Regions from separate parts of the Homo sapiens genome. Here regions 1, 2 and 4 are each linked to region 3. The links are contacts of gene promoters, found by promoter capture Hi-C in blood cells and fetal thymus (Javierre and others, 2016). All regions are on one chromosome and are shown on one strand. The core of a region is centred on a gene start or on the middle of the fragment in contact, and the rest is flanking DNA. Distances in the headings are between cores, read along the strand shown.

Region 1 (3,081 bases), core at 1-2,500, 240 kb before region 3:
TGCCAGGTAGGGACACCTGCCTGGCACAGCCATAAAGCTCCCCACTCCCCTGCCTGCCCTGTGCTACCTCCGCAGTCCCTGTGCTCTGGTGGCAGCTTTGATGTGTCCTCTACCTAGTCTCAAAGGGGTAGCCAAGGTCCTTTGTGCTGAGGGCCTGGACAGGGTGGAGCTGGGAAGATAAGAGCCAGAAGGTATGGGCTATTAGCTATGGGGCTCAGAATTTGCTGATTTGAAGCAAAGACCCCAGGAATGTGCCTTATGGGAGTCTCTCCTAATAATAGCTCTTTCCTTTCTTTTCCCTACTGGGCCCTGTGCCTCAGGATGACAGTTTCACTGGTGAGTCGCATTTCCTGCCCCATTGCTCCTCCCCACGCCCACTATTTTTGCAGATGCCTAGCAAGCCCTCCATTCTAATTTTCAGTTCCCAACCCGGGAAGTAGCACAATATCAAGGAAAAATTTGGAATCATGACAAGCCTGGGTTCACATTGCAGTTCTGCCAGACTCCCGTGTGGCCTCAGACTGTGCACCTAACCCCTCCAACTGACCCTCAGTTTCTGAGGGGTAGTAGCATAGTAGAAATGATTGTACACTAAAGGCAGTGTTGCTTCTGATCTGTAGAGAGGATTAGATGAGAAACATGAGTAAATCTCCAGGTTCTCCATATATGTTGGCTCCTCCCCTTAACTGATCCCTCACTTCTATCAGTAATACAACAATAATCCTTCCTATTTTATGGTATGTTCTACTTCACAAGACATTTTCCCATACACTACAATTTTGATTTTTATAACAGACCCGCTTTATGAATGAGGAATCTGATCCTTAGACAGGTCCTGTAACCCCCAAAGTCATACTTCCAGGATGTGACAGAGCTTGGCCTCAAATCCAGCTTGTTGGAGGTAGGAGGGACCTTCTTAGACCCTATCATTTGCTTTCCCTTCCATCTTTCCCAGGAAGTTCTGCCTATATCCCTTGCCGCACCTGGTGGGCCCTCTTCTCCACAAAGCCTTGGTGTGTGCGAGTCTGGCACTGTTCCCGCTGTTTGTGCCAGCATCTGCTGTCAGGTGGCTCAGGTATGAGAAACAGCCCCTTGGGCCATTCTCAGTGAAGAGAACATTTTGAGGGACCACCTAGGCTGAGCAAGTGGGACTTACTAGAACAGATATTTGTCTTGTTTTAACCTCAACTGGGACTTGGATTATCCTAAAATAGCACGCTATGACTGATATTCACAAATACAATTGTACAATTTTATGAAGGTTTTTTTTCAGCTGAGATTCTTGGAATTAAAAGCTATGGATTTATTGTTATTACCATCTATTTGTAGAGCAGGATCTTCTTTCTTACTCTATATTTTAATTGCTCAGCTCAGTGCCTGGTACATACTAAATGCCCTTACATTGCTTAAGAATTGGCAGTTTCTAGGCCAGGCGCGGTGGCTCACGCCTGTAATCCCAACACTTTGGGAGGCTGAAGCAGCCTGATCACCTGAGGTCAGGAATTCGAGACCAGTCTGGACAACATTGTGAAACCCCTGTCTCCACTAAAAATACAAAAAATTAGCAGGGCCTGGTGGCAGGCACCTGTAATCCCAGCTGCTCAGGAGGCTGAGGCAGGAAAATCACTTGAACCCAGGAGGTGGAGGTTGCAGTGAGCCGACATCATGCCATTGCACTCCAGCCTGGGCGACAAGAGCAAAACTCCATCTCCAAAAAAAGAATTGGCAGTTTCTGGGCCAGGTATGATGGTTCACACCTGTAATCCCAGCACTCTGGGAGGCCAAGGTGGGTGGATCGCTTGAGTCCTGGAGTTTGAGACCAGCCTGGCCAACATGGCCAAACCCCATCTCTACAAAAAAATACAAAAATTAGCTGGATGTGGTAGTGCACACCTGAAGTCCCAGCTACTTGGGAAGCTGAGGTGGGAGGATCACCTGAATTCAGGAGGTGGAGGTTGCAGTGAGTTAAGATAGCGCCACTGCACTCCAGCCTGGATGACAGTGTGAGACCCTGTCTCAAAAAAAAAAAAAAAAAAAAAAAAAGAATAGGCAGTGTTTAATTTTTCTAATTGTTTGTTGTTAGAAATAATGCTACAGGGCTGGGCACAGTGGCTTATGCCGGTAATCCCAGTACTTTGGGAGGCTGAGGCGGGCAGATCACCTGAGGTCAGGAGTTTGAGACCAGCCTGGCCAACATGGTGAAACCCCGTCTCTACTAAAAATACAAAAATTAGCCAGGTGTGATGGTGCATGCCTGTAATCCCAGCTACTCAGGAGGCTGAGGTGAGAGGATTGCTTAAGCCCAAGAGTTCAAGACTGCAGTGAGCAGTGATTGTGCCACTGCACTCCAGCCTCCATGACAGAGCAAAATCCTGTCAAGAAAGGAAGGAAGGAAGGAAGGAACGAAGGAAGGAAGGAACAAAGGAAGGAATGAAGGAAAGAAAGAAAAGAGAGAGAGGCAGGGACTGGCGTGGTGGCTCACGCCTGTAATCCCAGCACTTTGGGAGGCTGAGGTGGGCAGATCTTGAGATCAGGAGATCGAGACCATCCTGGCTAACATGGTGAAACCCCGTCTCTACTAAAAGTACAAAAAATTAGCTGGGCGTGGTGGCAGGCGTCTGTAGTCCCAGCTACTCTGGGGGCTGAGGCAGGAGAATCGCTTGAAGCCAGGAGGCGGAGATTGCAGTGAGCCAAGATCGCGCCGCTGCACTCCAGCCTGCGTGACAGAGCAAGGCTCCGTCTCCAAAAAATAAAAATTAAAGAATGCTAAAATGAATATCTTTGTATATATAGCTTTTTCTCTGCTTAAGAAATTAATCTTTTCTTGATTGCTTTATAATTTTCAAGATTAAAGAAGCTTGACATCCTTACCCTCCTTGATTTAAAACGACTTACTATCAGGCCGGCTCATGCCTGTAATCCCAGCACTTTGGGAGGCCGAGGCGGGCGGATCACCTGAGGTTGGGAGTTCGAGACCAGCCTGACCAACACGCAGAAACCCCGTCTCCACTAAAGATACAAAATTAGCCGGGCATGGTGGCACATGCCTGTAATCCCAGCTACTTGGGAGGCTGAGGCAGG
Region 2 (2,700 bases), core at 77-2,576, 170 kb before region 3:
ATCCAGGCTGGAGTGCAGTGGCACGATCTTGGCTCACTACAGCCTCCGCCTCCCAGGTTCCAGTGATTCTCCTGCCTCAGCCTCCTGGGTGGCTGGGATTATAGGCACATGCCACCGTGCCCAGCTCATTTTTGTATTTTTTTTTTTTTTTTGAGACAGAGTTTTGCTCTTGTTGCCCAGGCTGGAGTGCAATGGTGCAATCAATCTCAGCTCACTGCAAACTCCACCTCCTGAGTTCAAGCAATTCTGTCTCAGCCTCCCAAGTAACTGGGATTACAGGTGCCCACCACCATGCCCAGCAAATTTTTTTTTTGTATCTTTAGTAGAAAAGAGGTTTCACCATGTTGGCCAGGCTGGTCTTGAACTCCTGACCTCAGCTGACCCACCTGCCTTGGCCTCCCAAAGTGCTGGGATTACAGGCGTGAGCCACCGCACCTGGCCCATTTTTGTATTTTTAATAGAGACAGGGTTTCACCATGTTGTCCAGGCTGGTGTCGAACTCCTGAACTCAGGTGATCTGCCCACCTTGGCCTCCCAAAGTGCTGGGATTACACGTGTGAGCCCCTGTGCCTGGCCGGAACTTCCCTTCTCTTTTAGTTTCTATCATGAAACACAGTGAGATTTTGTCCCACAAAAATCATACTAAATTTTGCAAATTCTAGAACCTTTTTGTGAAAAGGCTCTTAGTATTGTTTTTTTAATGCAATTTATATCTGATGTCTATGGGGTTCAAAAAGGTTCAAATTATTCTAAATGTTTACCTGGCACCTCCGATTGGATTATTTTACAGCATCATTGATAGTGTGGATTAAATTCCAGTGAGCATTTAAAAACCAGTAAAAGCACCAAGAATTTCCATTTACTTAATAGATGATTCTGTCTCAGGAAAGAGAGACGTGTAAACTATGTTTTTACTAAGTTTAAATTAAAACGATGGAACCACACAACACTCCCTTCAAGGAAGCTATTTTTAAAATAGCTCTTGGTAACACCTTTCAGAGCATTGCTGCAGCTTTGAAAGGTGAAGGAGTATACCTTGAAAGCTTTGTTTGTGTCTGCGGGCATGGCCATGGCTGCTCCCGTCATCTGCTCCTGCATCATTCGTGATTGGTCAGCGGCTGTAGCATAAGACACACTTACATGAGTGCCAGGACTCAGCAAGCACCCCAGCACCCAAGGGGAAGAATGGGCTTCACACAGATTAGAGAACTGGACTACAGCCTCACTGGCTGGCCCTGTCACCCACTGGCTATGTGACTCTAGGAAAGTCACTTTGTGTCTCCTGAAAAATGGGGACAGTAACAGCAAAAGAGAGATCACTAAAGGAAGCTCTAAACTTTATTTCAAATTTCAACAATAACAGCCACCAGTTATTGAGCAACTACTGCATGCCAAGTACTTCACTAAGTGCTTTGCATATTTTTCCTCATCTGTTCCTAACAACCCCACAGGTTAACTAATAAAGTCCTTATTTACAGATAAGTAAATAGAGAATTCGAAGTTAAGTAACTTGTTAAGTAACTTTTCTGAGGTCCCAGCCAGTAAACAAGAGAGCAAGGATTAGTACTGGCAAGGGCTCTAGTCAATGAACTGACAAACCAAGCCTTCTTTAAGCTTTAGGTTCACAGGCTTACACTGCTGGTGCTGGATCCCTCACATGATGGTATCAGACTCTGGGGAATCAAAATACTGTCCCAGTCATTGCCAGAGAGAATTGAGATCTTCAGTTTGACCCCCGGAATTTTTAAGACTCTTTCAGAATACCTCAGAAACTTAAGGAAGGAAACATTTTATTTGACTATGGTAACAAACAGCACAACCTACAAGACTTTTCTGGCTCTAATATGGATGATTCATCTATGGAAGTATTTGCTTAGTAAACCTGACATGCTTCTTACCATTATCTTGGCCCAGAATCAGAGAGTAAATGCTCCGAAGCCCAAATACATTGAGGAAGTACCAGGATGCAGAACTCACCCTGGCAAAGCAAAATGAAAATGGTGTGGTTAGTTATTATATCAGAGAGTAATGCAGTTCCCACTTCCCTACCACCCAAAGTTGTTCAGTGTTTGTAAAGAAGTCACCTTGGATGGGCTATATTCATCCAAAGCACAACCACAGAAGAAATACAAGTTGTTAAAGCAGTCTCACCAATACAGAACTATATTTCAAAAAATCCAAAGGTGACTCCCATTCTGAATTCCATTCCCTAGAGGAAATCACAAGTGTTGGTGTGTTCCATACTTTTTTTTTTTTTGAGACGGAGTCTCACCCTGTTACCCAGGCTGGAGTGCAGTGGCGCAATCTTGGCTCACTGCAACCTCTGCCACCTGGGTTCAAGAGATTCTCCTGCCTCAACCTCCTGAGTAGCTGGGACTACAGGCACACACCACCATGCCTGGCTAATTTTTATATTTTTATTAGAGATGGGGTCTCACCATGTTGGCCAAGCTGGTCTCGAACTCCTGACCTCAAGTGATCCGCCCACCTCAGCCTCCCAAAGTGCTGGGATTACAGGCGTGAGCCACTGGGTGTGTTCCATACTTACAAGAAGGGATGAGACATGGATTTCAGGAAATACAGTACCGAGGACTATAGCTACTGGGAGAGCCATTCCAAGTTTTGAACTATATCACTGAGGCTTCCTTTAGCTTAGGTTTCCTACTCAACCTCCATAAAATAAATATGCTTGCATATAAT
Region 3 (2,960 bases), core at 461-2,960:
TTATTTTTGAGCTGGGCACGGTGGCTCACACCTGTAATCCCAGCACTTGGGAAAACCAAGGCAGGCAGATTACCTGAGGTGAGGAGTTCAAGACCAGCCTGGCAAACATGGTGAAACCCCGTCTCTACTAAAAGTACAAAAATTACCTGGGTGTGGTGGCACACACCTGTAATCCCAGCTACTCCAGAGGCTGAGGCACGATAATCACTTGAACTCGGCAGATGGAGGTTGCAGTGAGCTGAGACTGAGCCACTGCACTCCAGCCTGGGTGATAAAGCGAGACTGTCTAAAAAAAAATTATTTTTAACTAATATAAAACTCTCTGAACCCTTCTTTTTCTGAGCTGCTTCTCCACTTGAGTCCATCCCACATCATTGAACATTTAATTACACAGAATTGTGTACCATCTTCCTTGACCCCCAGATCTTTAGCCTTCTATAGTACCCTGTCTCTTTTTGTCGTACTAGTCACAGTTGCACTTTTTTTTTTTTTTTTTTTGAGACAGAGTCTCATTCTGTCACCCAGGCTGCAGTGCAGTAGCACAATCTCAGCTCACTGCAACCTCCGCCTCCCGGGTTCAAGCAATTCTCCTGCCTCAGCCTCCTAAGTAGCTGGGATTACATGCGCGCACCACCACGCCAGGCTAATTTTTGTATTTTTAGTAGAGACGAGGTTTCACCATGTTGTCAGGCTGGTCTAGAACTCCTGACCTTGTGATCAGCCCACTTCAGCCTCCCAAAGTACTGGGATTACAGGCATGAGCCACTGCACCCGGCCATAGTTGCTATTTTATTTGTGTGATTGATTACCGTATGACGCTTTTATTGAAGTGCAGTGAAGGCAGGAAACATGACCGGTTTTTACAATATTTTCAACACTTATCACCATAGGTGGTACATAGTAGGGCCTTAATAAATATTTGTAAAATGAACAAAGTTAATGAGTGTTTATGTTTGTAGTTTTAATTGCTCTGAAGTAAATATCTGATTTTCCAATTTCCACCAGAGTGCTCTGCACATAGTAGGTCTAATTATTTTTCCCTCTTTACTAATCACCCATGCCTTGTAAGAATTCAGTTAGTTGACTTTTTGTACTTTATAAGCGTGATGATTGGGTGTTCCCGTGTGAGATGCGCCACCCTCGAACCTTGTTACGACGTCGGCACATTGCGCGTCTGACATGAAGAAAAAAAAAATTCAGTTAGTCCACCAGGCACAGTGGCTAAGGCCTGTAATCCCTGCACTTTGAGAGGCCAAGGCAGGAGGATCACTTGAACCCAGGAGTTCGAGACCAGCCTAGGCAACATAGCGAGACTCCGTTTCAAACAACAAATAAAAATAATTAGTCGGGCATGGTGGTGCGCGCCTACAGTACCAACTACTCGGGAGGCTGAGGCGAGACGATCGCTTGAGCCAGGGAGGTCAAGGCTGCAGTGAGCCAAGCTCGCGCCACTGCACTCCAGCCCGGGCGACAGAGTGAGACCCTGTCTCAAAAAAAAAAAAAACACCAAACCTTAGAGGGGCGAAAAAAAATTTTATAGTGGAAATACAGTAACGAGTTGGCCTAGCCTCGCCTCCGTTACAACGGCCTACGGTGCTGGAGGATCCTTCTGCGCACGCGCACAGCCTCCGGCCGGCTATTTCCGCGAGCGCGTTCCATCCTCTACCGAGCGCGCGCGAAGACTACGGAGGTCGACTCGGGAGCGCGCACGCAGCTCCGCCCCGCGTCCGACCCGCGGATCCCGCGGCGTCCGGCCCGGGTGGTCTGGATCGCGGAGGGAATGCCCCGGAGGGCGGAGAACTGGGACGAGGCCGAGGTAGGCGCGGAGGAGGCAGGCGTCGAAGAGTACGGCCCTGAAGAAGACGGCGGGGAGGAGTCGGGCGCCGAGGAGTCCGGCCCGGAAGAGTCCGGCCCGGAGGAACTGGGCGCCGAGGAGGAGATGGAGGCCGGGCGGCCGCGGCCCGTGCTGCGCTCGGTGAACTCGCGCGAGCCCTCCCAGGTCATCTTCTGCAATCGCAGTCCGCGCGTCGTGCTGCCCGTATGGCTCAACTTCGACGGCGAGCCGCAGCCCTACCCAACGCTGCCGCCTGGCACGGGCCGCCGCATCCACAGCTACCGAGGTACGGGCCCGGCGCTTAGGCCCGACCCAGCAGGGACGATAGCACGGTCTGAAGCCCCTCTACCGCCCCGGGGTCCATTTTGCAGACGGGGAACTGAGGCCCCTTGAGGCAGGACACATCCAGGGTGACGCTGCTCGTAAGCGTCAGAGCATTCTTTTTTTTTTTTTTTTTTTTCTGAGACGGAGTCTCGCTCTGTCGCCCAGGCTGGAGTGCAGTGGCGCGATCTCGACTCACTGCAGCCTCCGCCTCCCGGGTTCAAGCGATTCTCCTGCCTCAGCCTCCTGAGTAGCTGGGATTACAGGCGTGCGCCACCGCGCCCGGCTGATTTTTATATTTTTAGTAGAGACGGGGTTTCACCATGTTGGTCAGGCTGGTCTCGAACTGCTGACCTCGTGATCCGCCCGCCTCGGCCTCCCAAAGTGCTGGGCTTATGGGCATGAGCCTCCGCGCCCGGCCCAGAGCATTCTTTATAAGGCCGAATAGTTTGCATTTGAAGGTGGCTCCCCCCAGTCCCCCACCCCACGTGTATTTTCCCCTCAAAGAAAAGCTGCATCCTTAACACCCCATCTGTTCAGTCCTCATGACTCCAGTGGGCCAGTTCTGCGTAGTCCCTGCCCTCGTGGAGAACACATTCCTCCTGGGGAGACTGACAGATGCAAAGACAGGAACAAGCCAGGGTCATGTTGGCGCCGGAAGAGCCGACCGTGTGTGGCGTGGGAAATTGACTTACCTGCCTGCTGGGAGATGGAGGGGTTGCGGTTGTGTGGTTTCAGTTAAGGAGCACTTCCCGGAGAAGGAAGAGAGCAGGATGGAGTAGGAACTAGCCAACCCTAGGTAAGA
Region 4 (2,923 bases), core at 338-2,837, 190 kb after region 3:
GAAAGTGTTTGGTTTTCCTCGAAGCATGGGACATCATCGATCATGGTATTCAAAATGTCTTTTGCACTGTACAAGTTTATGGAAAAAAGATCATATGCTGAAAAGTCTCAAAGCAAACTTTGTATTAAATACAAAAGTTCTTTTATGAAAAACGCTGAGACCCACAAAGTGCTTAGCAGTTAAGAGGCTGACATCCAATTAAATAAGCTCTTATTAAGTGGGATTACTAGTGCTGTTGTCTTGGGGAAAAAATAACCACCTTTTCTCACCTGTGATACTGTAGGGTTTCAGAATGGCTTTCTGTTTGGGAAAGCAAGACTTGCTGTTAAAAGGCTACAGTATATATTGTGACTACAGGAAGACAATTTGGTTTAAAATCACACTGAGTACATCTCAATATACACATCATAAGGTTCATTCGGATCTAAATAGTGCAGAGAAAAAGGCTATTCTTCTTCAAAAATAAAAATAAAAGCAGCAAGCCATACTGATCCTCATCCAATATGCCAACAGCTCAGATGCTGCCATTAATAAGGAAACAAACCTGTAAGTTACTAAATAAAAAAAAAAATCAACACAATACCATTTATAATATTTCAACACTACCTCAATCTCTGTACAGACAGTGCCAAAGAGAACCTATTTTTGAAATGCTCTTAGTAAACTCAAGCGAGTTTCATTGAGAGAAAAGTCTTCGAGCAGTGCTTTGCAGATCCTGGCATCCTTGGGCCGGATGGCCGTTAGTGTTGCAAACCCAGGAAGCCTTCTCTCCTCCTCTCCCTTCGTCTACGGAGCATGTTGTTAAACCCCTCAGGATGGCAACTCGGTAGCATTTGGCTTCTGCCTGAGCCTCTCACGGTAGTGACATTATTGAACGGAAATAGCAGGCAAAAATCAGAGCATGGCTATCATAAAACATCCAGGATGCAACCCAGGGGAAGTGTCTGTTGGGCCGAGCTGTTTTTATAGCATCTCAGCCACCAGTGTTCTTAAACCATACAAATAGCCAAAGACGTTATCTACAGGTTTGTAAACAAATTACATTCTTCTTTTAGGACATAAATAAGTTAAAATAGAGCAATTTAAGCGGAAACAAGGCAACATGCCGGCAAAGAAACTTTATATATCCATGTATATATATTTATATATATATATATATATCTACCTATCTATATGGACGTATACAGTCTCGGAAAAGTATACGTTGATATAGATACAAAGAAATGGATATAACCTTGTGAGTGTCTATGAAGTTCTTCGGTTCCATTGGTGCAAATCTACTAGGCGAGTTAAGCTCTGCAATTTCAAAAAGTTATTAAATTAATCTATACAACTGAGACCATGCTGTGCAAGCATTTCAAAAACTCACAGACCAGTGGATTGGATAAATAGTCTCAGAAAAGAGTCTGTTTGCAGTTCCCGCCTAAGAAAACAAACAAACAAACAAAAACCCCTCCCCAACCCCCAAAAACCAAACAAGGGGAGGATTGAAAGTGTACAGTACATTCATGCGGGGGACGTGGTGGCTGGGCGGGTGCATGGCTGGTCCATGTCTGGGTGGGAGCCAGGAAGGGCTTGTTTTGGGAAAACCGCTCACTCCCGTAAGCCCCCAGTGGAGATCCCGCCCCTTGCCTTGAAGTGAAAAAGAGTTCAAACAGCATCGCAGCCAGAGAAAGGGTCTGTGGGTGGAAACGTTGGTTTTCTCTCCAGTATTTGGTTTCCGATTGTTGCTCGTTGCTGCTTGGGTGAGTTGGGTGCCTGGATGGATGGGTGCCCGGAAAGCGGGTGGCAGCGGGGTCCATGAGGGCGGGCGGGCAGGCGAGAGGGTCCTCAGCTAAAGCGACGTCTCCAGGCTGTGGATGGGGCTCCCTGGACTTGAAGAGGTAGCTGATTTGCTTGTGTCGGTCGTCAGGTTGATCCCACTGTCGATGGCGCTGTTGTTCTTGTTGAGGGATGACGGCGGGCTCGAGTTCTGCTTGAGCGCGGCATCTTCTTCCAGGTCGGTGTCATCAATGAGGGGGATGTGGGGCTGGGAATCTTCGATCCGGAATTCAGGATGAGCCATGAAGTTATGGATGGAGGTTCGAGATTCAGGCTTTTCTAAACCTTCATAGAGAGAGCTACGGAACGCCTTCACGACGCGGATCTGCAAGGGAAGCACAGGGGTCAGGAGCACTGCCCAGGGACCACAGCCAGGCTCGGGGGGCTCACAGGAGGGGCGGGTGGGAGAAGGGTTAGGGCAAAGCAGGTGGCTGGAATCCATAGTCGCTGGGTGTTATTAGCATTGACAGGATGGGGGAGAGTGAAAAAGGGGGCTCAGGTTATAGGCATCCTTGAGCTGGTTTTTAAAAATCTCTTTGGTTTTGGTAGAAACTAGTGTTAGGACAGGAGGAATCACCAAGCACCATCAAAGAGATGATGGGGAACAGTGGTTAAAGGAAGCACAGTCGACTCCTGCGGGCACCCACACCTAGTGAGAGACTGAGCCTTGTTCACTTTAAAGCAGAGGTTCAACCATGCAGACAGGGAGGAGGACCAGGTGGGAATCAAGTAGGAAAGAGGAGAGGCTATTAAAAAAATTCATCTTAGGAAAACCACACACAGTTAAGAAACCATACAACATGGAACATGTTACGTGTCACAAACAGAAAAGGCACAGAAAGGAGAGACGGTTGGATGAGTTGGGATGAGAGAGACACATGAGGGCCAAACAGAACGGGAACATCAAACCAAAGGCAGCAAAGCAAACCAAAGCCAACCCAGGGCTTTCTGAGGTGCAGAGCAGAGGCAGCCAGAAAGCACATGGGAGCTGGCGGACAGATGACATTCGGGGGCGGGCTGCATGCCACGGGGAGGCCGGGAGCCACATGGCACACACAGACAGACACACGGCTACACTTGGAAGCCTGGACAATGTGAACGG

What was found. The method cuts DNA at HindIII sites, captures the fragments that hold promoters and counts their contacts. A CHiCAGO score of 5 or more calls a contact.
Region 1: a contact is called between a fragment that was not itself captured here and the fragment with the promoter of VHL in region 3, in 3 of 17 cell types (total CD4 T cells, total B cells and activated CD4 T cells). The highest score is 5.4, in total CD4 T cells.
Region 2: a fragment that was not itself captured here is called in contact with the fragment with the promoter of VHL in region 3 in 1 of 17 cell types (activated CD4 T cells); the score reaches 5.8 in activated CD4 T cells.
Region 4: a contact is called between a fragment that was not itself captured here and the fragment with the promoter of VHL in region 3, in 1 of 17 cell types (neutrophils). The highest score is 5.7, in neutrophils.

What each region holds. Positions count from the first base shown.
Region 1 is chr3:9,903,077-9,906,157 of GRCh38, forward strand. IL17RE (interleukin 17 receptor E) reads left to right here. Exons shown (of 16, transcript NM_153480.2): 2 at 321-336; 3 at 956-1,075. Among named protein-coding and RNA genes, the nearest start is that of IL17RE, 1.8 kb to the left of the region's middle. RefSeq lists an enhancer at 1-645. The HindIII fragment of the contact is 3,209 bases long and covers 1-2,855 here.
Region 2 is chr3:9,968,684-9,971,383 of GRCh38, forward strand. EMC3 (ER membrane protein complex subunit 3) reads right to left here. Exons shown (of 8, transcript NM_001394674.1): 6 at 1,899-1,978; 7 at 1,036-1,118. Among named protein-coding and RNA genes, the nearest start is that of EMC3, 17 kb to the right of the region's middle. The HindIII fragment of the contact is 571 bases long and covers 1,042-1,612 here.
Region 3 is chr3:10,140,068-10,143,027 of GRCh38, forward strand. It overlaps VHL (von Hippel-Lindau tumor suppressor), which reads left to right and starts at 1,711. Exons shown (of 3, transcript NM_000551.4): 1 at 1,711-2,120. The coding sequence starts at 1,781. It also overlaps the pseudogene LOC124906359. RefSeq lists an enhancer at 2,628-2,960. The HindIII fragment of the contact is 16,438 bases long and covers 1-2,960 here.
Region 4 is chr3:10,326,980-10,329,902 of GRCh38, forward strand. ATP2B2 (ATPase plasma membrane Ca2+ transporting 2) reads right to left here. Exons shown (of 23, transcript NM_001001331.4): 23 at 1-2,146. The coding sequence ends at 1,835. Among named protein-coding and RNA genes, the nearest start is that of MIR378B, 1.8 kb to the right of the region's middle. RefSeq lists an enhancer at 1,305-1,853. The HindIII fragment of the contact is 4,701 bases long and covers 1-2,923 here.